2 separate regions of the Homo sapiens genome follow, and region 2 is linked to region 1. Evidence: promoter capture Hi-C in 16 types of primary human blood cells and fetal thymus (Javierre and others, 2016). All regions are on one chromosome and are shown on one strand. Each heading gives the region's core, a stretch centred on a gene start or on the middle of the fragment in contact. The rest is flanking DNA. Distances are from core to core; before and after follow the strand shown. Region 1 holds the start of MYBL1 (MYB proto-oncogene like 1). Region 2 holds the start of ARFGEF1 (ARF guanine nucleotide exchange factor 1).

Region 1 (5,278 bases), core at 20-2,519:
TTGACAGCAGTGCATGCAAGCTTCTCTCTTAATTCAGCTCCTCTTAATTCACTCTGCACCTGCATCTGATTTGCAAAAGATGAAGCGTAAAATTTCAAAATAGCAAGTGTTTGTTACAGTGTTAACATGTGGCTCAGTGCTCTATGCAATAGACCATGTTGCCTTGCAAATTTTCCTTAGCCAAGTGTAATTGTTACTGTAGCAAATCTACTTTAATGCTACTTGAAATGAACAGTTCGTAGTTATTAGACTGGAACCTCAAGTAGCTGCAACCGCTAGAAACTCCTCCGGTGGTTCCCCCCTCCCTGGTCTCTCCAGAGGGAAGAAGGTCACCTTCTACACTTAACTACCATGCTCATTCATCTGGACGAAATGCCCAGTCCACTGTCTTCTTCACGCGTTATTCTCCAGGACAGGGCTCCTCCGCCGCGCACGTTATTTCCTGTAGAGCGGGCACGAAATTAAGCACCTTGAAGACCAGCGGTAGACACAGATTATCTCCGGTTCCAAGCACGTCTCCCGCTAGGAACTTTTTTCACTTGTCACTCTTCTGCTGCTTTTTGAGGAAAACAGGTGATATTTGGTTTCCTGCCAGAGTCTTCGTCACTCTCGTAACTATGATGTCTGGGTAAAAATAGCTCACATTTTTGCTTAAAAAATAACGGCCGCGCAAATTTATGGTTAGATTTGTCTCAAGTCTGAAGACCGCGCATCCTAACTAGTGAGGCGGAAGACACCTAAGGAGCCAGGAGCTGTCGCCGAGGCGAGGCTGCGGAGACGTTCCCTTGGTGGGCCGCGGGACCACCCACCCCGCCAGAAACTCGGTTCGCTCACCCTAAGAATTTTGGGGCAACTGGACTTCTCCACCGCCCGCTTCCGGACCCGCTCCGGCGCCGCTTCCGGACCCACTCCTCGGCGAGCGCAGGAACTCGCTCTCCCAGCAGGCCCCGCGCGGTGCGCCTCTCGGCGCGTTCCGGGTCCTATGACAGCTCGGCTCGCATGCGCCACCTACGGCCCCACCCGCGGCCCCACCCCCTGGCTCCCGGCTCCTTCCCCGACTCCCGCGAGTTCCAGTCCCAGCTTCCAGCTCCCCAGCCCCGCCCTCAGCCGCGCGCGCTCTCCCCTCCCCGCCCTCGCTTCTTCGCGTGCGGCCCCCACAGCCAATGAGGTTCAGGGCCGCGTGCGCAGATTCAAACGGCGGCTCTTGAGGGAGGCTGGGCGCGAGATTCGGCGGTGCGGACAAAACCCTGCAGGAGACTGCGAGCCCTGCAGAACTGCTAGCTGCGGGGGAGAGGGCAGGGGTCGGGCGCCTGTGGCGGAGCCGGGCTGGGGCCAGGGCAGGGAGGCTGACAAGCGGCGGGAGAAGCCGGCGGAGGGCGGGATCGCGCCTCCTGACATGTTGGGGGTATCCCTGGCCGGGCCGGGCCGGGGCTAAGAGCGGCGCTGCGGGCCGGGGTCGGGGTCGGGTCGCGGTCCGCCCCCGCTGTCCCTCCGTCCTGCCCTGTCGAGGACGTGCGTTCCGCACTCGGCCGCCTCCAGAGGGAGCGAGGGAAGCGGCTAGAGGATCGGGGAGAAGGAGCATTCGCCGGAGGCTGGAGGAGGCTGACCCGCGTCCCCGCCCAGCCTGCTCCTATGCGGTACTTGAAGGATGGCGAAGAGGTCGCGCAGGTGGGTGGCACCCCTTTCGCCCAGGCCTGTCGGCGCCGTCTCGGCTCAGATTCTCTTTCCTATCCCGCTGCCCCCTCCCGCCATAAGGCCCTCCCTGGCGAGGGCAGAGGTTTTTCTTCCCGCGTCCCCGCGGCCGCTTGGCCTCGATGACCGGAGGGCAGCTGCGACGTGTGGAGAGTTGGGGACCAGGGTGTTTGAGGCGCGGGACGTAAGAGATGCCCAGGTTTCTCGGTGACTCTCCCCGTAATGCGCGTCCAGATTTCTGACCTCATGCTGCCACTTCTTCGAGGCAGGTTTCTTGCCAGGTAAGTCGAGCGCTTTTAGGGAGTCCGCTACGCAGAGAAAACTGACTGTGTCCTGCCGGGAGGACTTGAAAATGGTGTTCGGGCGACTCTTTTCTGAATGACGGTACAGTCAAAATAGGAACTCCGCGGTGAACCTGGGCGGCCACCCCTCTGCCAACTTGGCTATCTTGAAACGTTGTGGAAAATCCTCTGGGGAATAGCTGAGAGGACTTTTTTGATGTTTTCTGTAATTCCTATACCCATATGCTCAGCTTTATGTATATATGTATATTTTAATATCCTCTCTTGGGACCATGTCACATAGTAACAACTAGTAGTAACAACTAGTAGCTTGATCTTGAAATAAAACAATGTGTTTGATTCACTTAATATTTTGAGTGTCTGTGTTTGGCTCTGACCGTACCTAAGTGTTCCACAGAGGTAAGGCACTTTTTTCCACCTTTGCCTGGAAAATGTGCTAGGATGAATTTATGCATCTAATTTTCGTTTACATGCCATTACAGCAGCTACTCATAAATTATGTGGAGTAATTGCTTAGATAACAAAAATATAGGATGTCTTCCGATTTTCAGCATTATCAAATAAACCTGAAAAGATGTTTGGCAGGATTTCCAAATATTTATTTATCTAGATCCACAGCCCCAAAATCTTAACTAGAGATGTATTTCCTAAGTTGAAATTTAGTAATGGGGGTCATTCATTGCAGAGTTCTGCTAAAAATTGGCAGTAACTATACATAATTGTTTTTTCCTTAGTTTTCTGTTAAGCATCTGCTGTGTGCAGGATGCTTCTGCAGAAATCCTTAAGTCTCTGTAAGCTTATTAGTTTTGAAGTAAGTTATAGGACAAACTCTTGAGATGAAATAAATGTGTACACAGACCCCTCTAAAACTGTTTTCAGCCTTTGCACTATTGACATCTTGGACCAGATAATTCTTTGTAATGGGGAGATGTTTAGCAGCATCGCTGGCTTCTACCCAGTAGAGATAGTAACACTCCACTTCCCTCAGTCATGACAGTAAAAATGTCTCCAGACATTGCCAAATATCTTTTGGGGGACAAAATCACCCAGGAAAGAACCACCCTTCTAGAACTTCAAGGACCCAATTAACATCAATCTTCAGAAAAGATAGATATTTAAAGCTCTTGTAATTATGATTGCCGAAGTACTGGTTTAGGCTTTTTGAATTTTTAAATATAAAAAAATTTAAAAATAAGATGACAATTGAATATGTTAACTCAATAACAAGTTTATTAATGTGTGATATTATCTACTTATCAGTATTGATGTTAATCTTATTTGAAACAGTTTCTTGGCTAATTCTGTCATCAGCATTTAGTTAAATTAAAATTATGGCTAGACACGAATGTTTAAATGTCAGAACCTTCCCCTCCCCATGGGTTTTCTGTCCATTTCATATGTGTGAAGTGTATGTTTCATAATAATGGACAAAGAAAGGAGAAACAACTTAATGTTAGTTTGCATATATAAGTTGTTTTATTGAGAATACTGTGAGCTTGAAATCTAAATATTGTACTTTTGACATTTATCCCTTGACAGTTGTGTAAGTTAATTTAAACATGATAGAATGATTTAAAGGGTCGTAAATCTGGAGTAATTAAATGTGGTGGGGTGAAGCTATACTCTCCCTGGGAGTATACAGATAGAGGATGTGGGGAGAAATTATCATCTCTGAATGATGTATCTCTTAAGTCTTCATACTTAAATGTGTTTCATACTCTGAATTACATTTCTTGCCCACGTAAATATGATTTACATATCTTAGAAGATAGTAGATGCTCTGCTTTTGTGCTTCAACAAAAAACAAAAGAGGATAGAGTGTGAATTGTTTTGAAGCAAAAATAATGTCATTGGGAAAAATCTCTCTTGCCTTTTACCTAAGTATCTTAATATATTTGAACTCAATTTATAGTTGAAAGGGAAAAGAAATAATTCAGTTACTTCAAGTTGTAATTTGAGATCTCCAGTATACAACCACTTAAGCGTTCAAGTGAAAACTATACTTTGCTGTATAAAAGTTTTGCCTAAGAGCATAGGCGTAAATCCTGTAATATATGTTTCCTATGTGAACTGAAAAAAAAAAACCCAAAAAAACCTAAGAGTAGAAAACTAAGTGTTACCTCAAGTGTGAACAACTGCAGGATGTTAGCTGTTTTGATCTTTAAGATAGCCGTAGTATCTGTCCTCTAGATTTACATAAAGGAAGACTCATTTGTATTGTGACTTTAAATAATTTTACATCCCACTGGGAATTGCGATGACAATTTACAGGCAATACTAAAATTAATATATCTGTTACTAACATATATTTAACTTTTAAGCATATTTATATATACGTAATTAATTTTAGATTCGAAAGTCAGTTTTACCCTTTAAAGTAAGCTTTAAAAAATGTCATTTAGAAACCTGTTTACTAGTAACAGATTATTTACACTTGAGATGACCTATGACTACACTAACCTGAAAAGATAAAAGCCAGCTCTTGAAATAGAAGATGTTTTTTGCAGTGTTATGTATATGTGTGTGTATAGGAACCAATTTTACTGTGTTGTTTCCAGCAAAATGGGTGGGAGTGAAATTATACTGAAATATGAGAACTGATCTTTTAATCGGTTTTGTCATTAACTGGCAATATTGTTTGGGGAAGCAGGTAAACTCTGCCTCAGTTTTTCATCTGGTTAATATATAGAGTTTGGATTTTATGGTCTGTAAGGTAGTTTCTAGCTTTAATGTATATATTTGAAGACATTTTGTAATCTTATTTAAAAGTATATACATACTAATGAAATAGAAATTTTCTCACAATGTTTTTGTTTATGGAATTACTAGGTAGAACTCTCCTCAATATTGCTGTTAATAATGATCAAAGGTTTTGTAAAGTTTGTCTTACTATAATACTGCTAGTTTGCACAGTCCAGATTTGGAAATAAAATATTCATGTATGCAGTACATATATTAACCACTGGGTGGCCTAATTTCACTTTATTAAATCAACCTGGTAAATTTTCATACCTTGAATATGATTGGACTTGTCCTCAAGATTGTATAATAAAGATTTTTTTTTTGTCTGTGATAAAGATTTCGGACTTGAGTTAATTTGTGATTAAAAATATTATCAACTTGATGCGATTTTACTAGAGCAAATTTATAGAACCGGTATTTCTCTTTCTTTTAGAATAAAAAATTTAAAAAAATTTCAGTTTCCTCCTTGGAATACCTCATTTACTGGTTTAAGTGATATAATTGTTATCCTCTAAAATTGAACTTCTAAATGTTTTATCTTA
Region 2 (5,565 bases), core at 2,566-5,065, 730 kb before region 1:
AAGACTACCGGAGGCATCACATAGTTTTTTTTAGTCAAGTAAACATGATGTTATTTTTTATGTTAACTAATATTGGCTTTCAACATCAACCAAATATGCTCCACATTAATTAAAATTTTATTCAGATTTTAATCTTTGTGTTACACTCAATGTATATCTATATTTAAAAGGACTATGATAAAGCACACCAATAAAGATGCTAAAACCCAGATCAAAGTCTTTTATTGCTTGATATTATTTGACTCTTTGGAAACAAGTGGGAAAATTATCCAAGAAGTAAAGCCAAAGCAGCTAGTACGCAGCAAACTAACAGATGGAAGGGGAAATGATGAGGGGGAATTAGGTGATAGGAAGGTGAGAGTGCAAACTGAGAGGCAAAATGGACTCAGGAAAGCAATTATGTATAAGAAAAATATATAGCTGGGCTTAGTGGTGGGCGCCTGTAATCCCAGCTACTCAGGAGGCTGAGGCAAGAGAACTGCTTGAACTCGGGAGGCGGAGGTTGCAGTGAGCCGAGATCGTTCCACTGCACTCCAACCCGGGTAACAAAGTGAGACTCCGTCTCAAAAAATAATAATAACAAAAAACAAAAAATAAAACAAAACAAAAAAAGGAAAAATATATTTCAAAATTTAGAGGATAGATATTTTAGAAATTCAGAAATAGAATTTGGATGTTTTGAAAACTGCAAGGAGCCAAGTGCAAGTGAATACTGAGATTGCATTTATTTACATAGCTGTATATTAGCACCAAACAACATTAATAATAAAAAGTAAAAAATATATATATACAGGGGAATGTACTCATAATTTCTTTTCTTTTTTTTTTTAATTGAGATCGAGTCTCACTCTGTTGCTCCGGCTGGAGTGCAGCAGCATGATCTTGGCTCACTGCAACCTCCGCCTCCTGGGTTCAAGCGATTCTCCTATCTCAGCCTCCTGAGTATCTGGGATTACAGGCACCCGCCACCACGCCCACCTAATTTTGTATTTTTAGTAGAAACGGGGTTTCACCATGTTGGCCAGGCTGGTCCTGAACTCCTGACCTCAGGTGATCCACCCGCCTCAGCCTCCCAAAGTGCTGGGTTTACAGGAATGAGCCACAGTGCCTGGTCTGTACTCATAATTTCATGTAAAAATCTCCTTTGCCACTCCCTGTGTACCTGTCAATAAAAGATTGAAAATATCCAAGAGCATCAGCTTTATTCTAGAGTCTTACTCTATTTTTGCTACAGGTCTGAGTTAGTATCTTGAGTTTCAAGTGGATAGGAGTGCCCATCTCGTAAGACTACTCCTACCCCCCTCCACCCTCAAGCACCACCACCTTTTGGGTAAACCCAGCAAGGGAAGAGGATGAGTTGTCCTCCCAAAGGAAGATGCAAATCATTCCTTCTGGGAGGGTTAGGTCATATCTCAGAGGAGTTTATTCTTCTGAAACTGACAACTACACTCTTTACCCTCAAATCTTCCATCTAGCCTATCTCTACAAATGGCATTTCCAACTGTTCACTGGTTCCCAGCAGAAACCTGGTATTCATTTGTGACCTCTTTCTCTCTCTAACCTGCACTCCAGTTAATTAAGTCCGGTTTATTCTGCCACCAAAGTATATCCCAAATCTGTCTACTTTGCTCCATCTCCATGCTACCACTGTCATTTCTGGGCTAACCTTTATGCAAATTAGTGAAAGAAGCCTCTTCTTTTGGGCAGACAGTGGGGCTGGATTTCAGCCACACTTGCTCCCTTGTGCCACGATCTCCACAACCTTGCTTGGTGGCCCTGGACCTGACCAAGCCATCCTGCGCTGTTGTAATAAATTTCTTAAAATGTTTTGCCACATCCTCACTTCTCCCCCTCCAATCCATTCTCCATGTAACAGAGGGATTATTTTAAAATCACCAATTTGATCACTTTATCCCCCACTTTTAAAACCTTTCAATGAATTTCCATTGTTATTACGATGAAATTGCAACCCCCTAACATGGCCTACGAGAGTCTGAATGATCTGGTTCCTAGCTCCCTCTTCATCCTGACTGGCACCATTCTCCTTGATCCTTTCAGCCACACTGCCTTGTTTTGTTTCCTGAAACTTGCCAAGCTTCCCCCTACCCCAAGAGACTTTGCCTGGAAAGTTCTTCATGACTTAGTTTGGCTAATGTCTACTCTTCTTTCAGGTCTCAATTTAATTTACTTCTCCCTTCTCTCACAGCACTCTATTCTTTAATCATACTCAACAGATTTGTAATTGTATATTCACTACTGACTTAATATCTTTTCCCTACTCTATACTGTAAGGTCCAAAAGGGCAGGTATCATGCTTGTCTTAGCCTGGTGCCTTTCATTTATCCAAGTTTCTATAAGTTTATAGCAAAGGCCTTCTCTATGCCAGCAATATAATAGATGATGGGCACACAGAAGTGAATAGACAGAGATATGAGGTCCCTGCACTTATGAGAGAAACATGCAACCAATCAACAAGCAAGGCAAGCAGATGAGATGATTATGAATGCTGTGGCACTATCATATCATAGTTCACTGCAGCCTCGAACTCCTGAGCTCAAGCGATCCTTCCTCCTCAGTCTCCTGAGCAGCTGCAACTACAGGTGGATGCCACCGTGCCTGGCTAATTTTTCTTTATTTTTTGTAAAGACAGTGTCTTGCTACGTTGCCCAGTTTCATCTGCAAATCCCGGCCTCAAGCCATTCTCCTGCCTTGGCCTCCCAAAGTGCTGGGACTACAGGTGCCAGCTTGTCTTGTTCATCAATGAATCCCAAGTATGTTTTACGATAAAGCTGACAGCTAAACATAACCGAAGAGTCTGCTTCGTTCATGTAAAGTACAAAATAGTTATTCTAGATGGTTCTTCTCCAAGAGTTCCAATTCAGAAACTAAGACTCCTAACTTGTGGTTCTGCCATCTTCAGCTGTGGCCATAGAAGGGAAAAGAGAGACTGGGCATGGTGGCTTATGCCTGTAATCTCAGCACTGGGAGGCTGAGGCAGGAGGATCGCTTGAGGCCACGAGTTCAACATGGTGAGATGCCATCTCTACCAAAAGAAAAAAAAAAAAAAGGGAAACAGCATGAAAGATTGCTTGTGGGAATTTCTTGTTGGTTTTTTAACAATAGGTTAAGCCTGGATGGCTACACCTAACTTCAAGGGAGGCTGGACAATGCAATTCTATACTAAGAAAGAAGAGTAAATGGGTTTGGTGATCAGCTAGTACCCTCAACAGTACCTGGCACAACACTCCATTATGAAGAAACAAAGATGAATTAGAAATGGATCAACACCTGTGAAAGAAGGGAAGAAAAAAATAAAAGAAATGGAACTTGTTCTAAAAAAGTTTATTAACGTATACACAGAAATCAGTATTATATCTGATCTAAGAGTATAATGAATCCTTCATTTCCAGGAATCTAGAGATAGTCTCTAAAATAAAATTAATGAATTTATAGATTTGTTTCTCAGGACAATAAAGTTTAAAAAAATTAATCTATTTTTCCACTTTAATTTGTCACCTTCAAGTTTTCCATTTTATTTCCTCTGGGTTTTAGCCTTCCTAAATCTGGTCACTTCACTAAGTTCACAGAGTCACTTAAGTTTCTCCTTCCTTAGGTTTGGATGGTTACGTTAGGACAAGCCTATAGTTAAGGCAATCTAATAGAACAGAACAGTGACAGATGCATAGTAAACATTAGGGAACCTGTGTGCGTGGAGCCACAGAAGCTTAGAACTTGGAGACGTGACCCTAGATCACCATATATAATGTTTGCAAATATTTTTATGGTATTCTTTTTCTGCTCAGAAGGAAACTGTAGAAATTAAATACTGCAGAAATTTGAGTTCTACACTCAGACTAAAGCAAACACATGGTCACGTGTGTTAATCTGTTTGTACTTAAAGCTTTTCCATTCTAAACTGGTTTACATGTCCTGGACTAAATCTTAGTATTAAAGGCACAGAAACACAGAACTCTAAGGGACCTCATTCACAACCATTCACCTTAACTGAGTCAATTCAGAAGGGACCTGAAATCTAGAGTTGACCGATTTATCCGACAGAGAGAGAAAAAAGTGAAACATTTTTGAACCCTTATCAATAGGTTTTGGCTTACTTTTCCCAAAACAGAATCCTCCCTGAGGTAGTCGGAGAGCAGAGTCCTGGACAGCAGTTCCGTGCACTAGGGAAGGAAATTTTAGAGTCGAGTGATGCAGGCGGAGACCCTGCGGCTGAGAACGGGCGATGCGGGTGTTGCTGTGACCCCTGGAATGCAAAGGACTGCACCCCCATCAGAAAGTTAGAAAGCCAGTGCAGAGTAGCCAGGAGTCCTGTTCACTCGGCAGGAGCAGGGGTGCCGAGTGGGGGGATCTCTGGTCCCGCAGCTCGGCCGCCACCAAGAGCCCGAAGTGCTGGGCGCGGTGCCACCAGAGGCCCGCCACGCCCCACGCCGCCCTGCAGGCGAACGCTGGAGGCCCCGCCGGGCCGCCGTAGCGCTGCGGCTCGGGCCGCTCCTCCCGCGCCGCCCTCCGCCCCCAGCCTCCCGGCGCCGCGGCAGCTCTGGGCAGGGAGCGCCGCCGCCGCCGCCGCCGCCGCCGCTTCCTCGTCTGCAGCCGTTCGGCCGCTGCGTGACGCGTCGTTTCCTCCCAACATGGCGGCCGGGGCAGGTCGGCGGTGATGGGGGCCAGTTCGCGGCCGCGGCGGGTGCTAATCCCCACAGTAGCCAGGGTAGCCCTTCTCTCGCGGTGCCTCTGAGAGCCGCCGCCACCTCGTCCCTCAGTTCCCGGCAGACAGCCGCCCGGGCCGGGCTCCCTCACCGCCACCAGGGCCGGAGGGACGAGTGAGAGGGGCGGCCGGGACGCGACCCCCGGGCCGGGAGAAGCGGAGGCCCGACGGGCGCGGCCCTCGAGGTACGGCTTCTTGGGGGCGGCGAGGACCTCGACGCCCTTCGCCGACACCGCGGCTGGTCCCGCTCGCCCGCCCCTTCCTGATCCTGCCGCTGCCCTCCACGCCTCCAATCCCCCACCTCCACCCCCTCTCCTTTCTCTCTTCTCTTCCTTCCTCTCCTCCTCCTCCCCTCCAGCCGCTGGGAGCCGCGGGTCGGACGAGCCGCCGCCTCCTTCTCTGCGTCCATGTATGAGGGGAAGAAGACGAAGAACATGTTCCTGACCCGGGCTCTGGAGAAGATATTGGCCGACAAGGAAGTGAAGAAGGCGCATCACTCCCAGCTGCGCAAAGCTTGCGAGGTGGCGTTAGGTGAGCGGGGAGGAGGCCCGGGGGATGGGGTGCTTGTTGTGGGGCGGGGAGGGGGGCGCCTGTGGGGGGGTGGGGTCGCCCGGGGCTTGCCCGAGGCCCGCGCCTCTGACCTCGGGAAGCCCTCGCGGAGCCCTCTGTTCCCTGTCTGGAGTTGACAGGAACTCGGCTGGATGTGGGGCAGAGGCGGGGTAGAGGAGGAAGGGCAGTGAGCTGGGCTCGGGAAACGCGGCAGGGCTTAGGATCGCGGGGCACCTGGGTTCGAGGGATCGACTTGAGAGTGAGAGGATTTTGTTGGTGGTCCGTGAGGTGCGGAC

Evidence for each region. The method cuts DNA at HindIII sites, captures the fragments that hold promoters and counts their contacts. A CHiCAGO score of 5 or more calls a contact.
Region 2: a contact is called between a fragment that was not itself captured here and the fragment with the promoter of MYBL1 in region 1, in 2 of 17 cell types (fetal thymus and total CD8 T cells). The highest score is 11.2, in fetal thymus.

Annotation. Positions count from the first base shown.
Region 1 is chr8:66,609,209-66,614,486 of GRCh38, reverse strand. MYBL1 (MYB proto-oncogene like 1) reads left to right here and starts at 1,269. Exons shown (of 16, transcript NM_001080416.4): 1 at 1,269-1,668. The coding sequence starts at 1,649. LOC105375884 (a long non-coding RNA gene) reads right to left here and starts at 938. Exons shown (of 2, transcript XR_929015.3): 1 at 835-938; 2 at 1-442. RefSeq lists enhancers at 423-472, 483-562, 613-752 and a silencer at 983-1,502. The HindIII fragment of the contact is 2,770 bases long and covers 23-2,792 here.
Region 2 is chr8:67,342,850-67,348,414 of GRCh38, reverse strand. ARFGEF1 (ARF guanine nucleotide exchange factor 1) reads left to right here and starts at 4,634. Exons shown (of 39, transcript NM_006421.5): 1 at 4,634-5,251. The coding sequence starts at 5,128. It overlaps ARFGEF1-DT (ARFGEF1 divergent transcript), which reads right to left and starts at 4,581. Exons shown (of 5, transcript NR_136224.1): 1 at 4,113-4,581. RefSeq lists silencers at 4,344-4,603, 4,784-5,013 and an enhancer at 4,940-5,565. The HindIII fragment of the contact is 177 bases long and covers 3,727-3,903 here.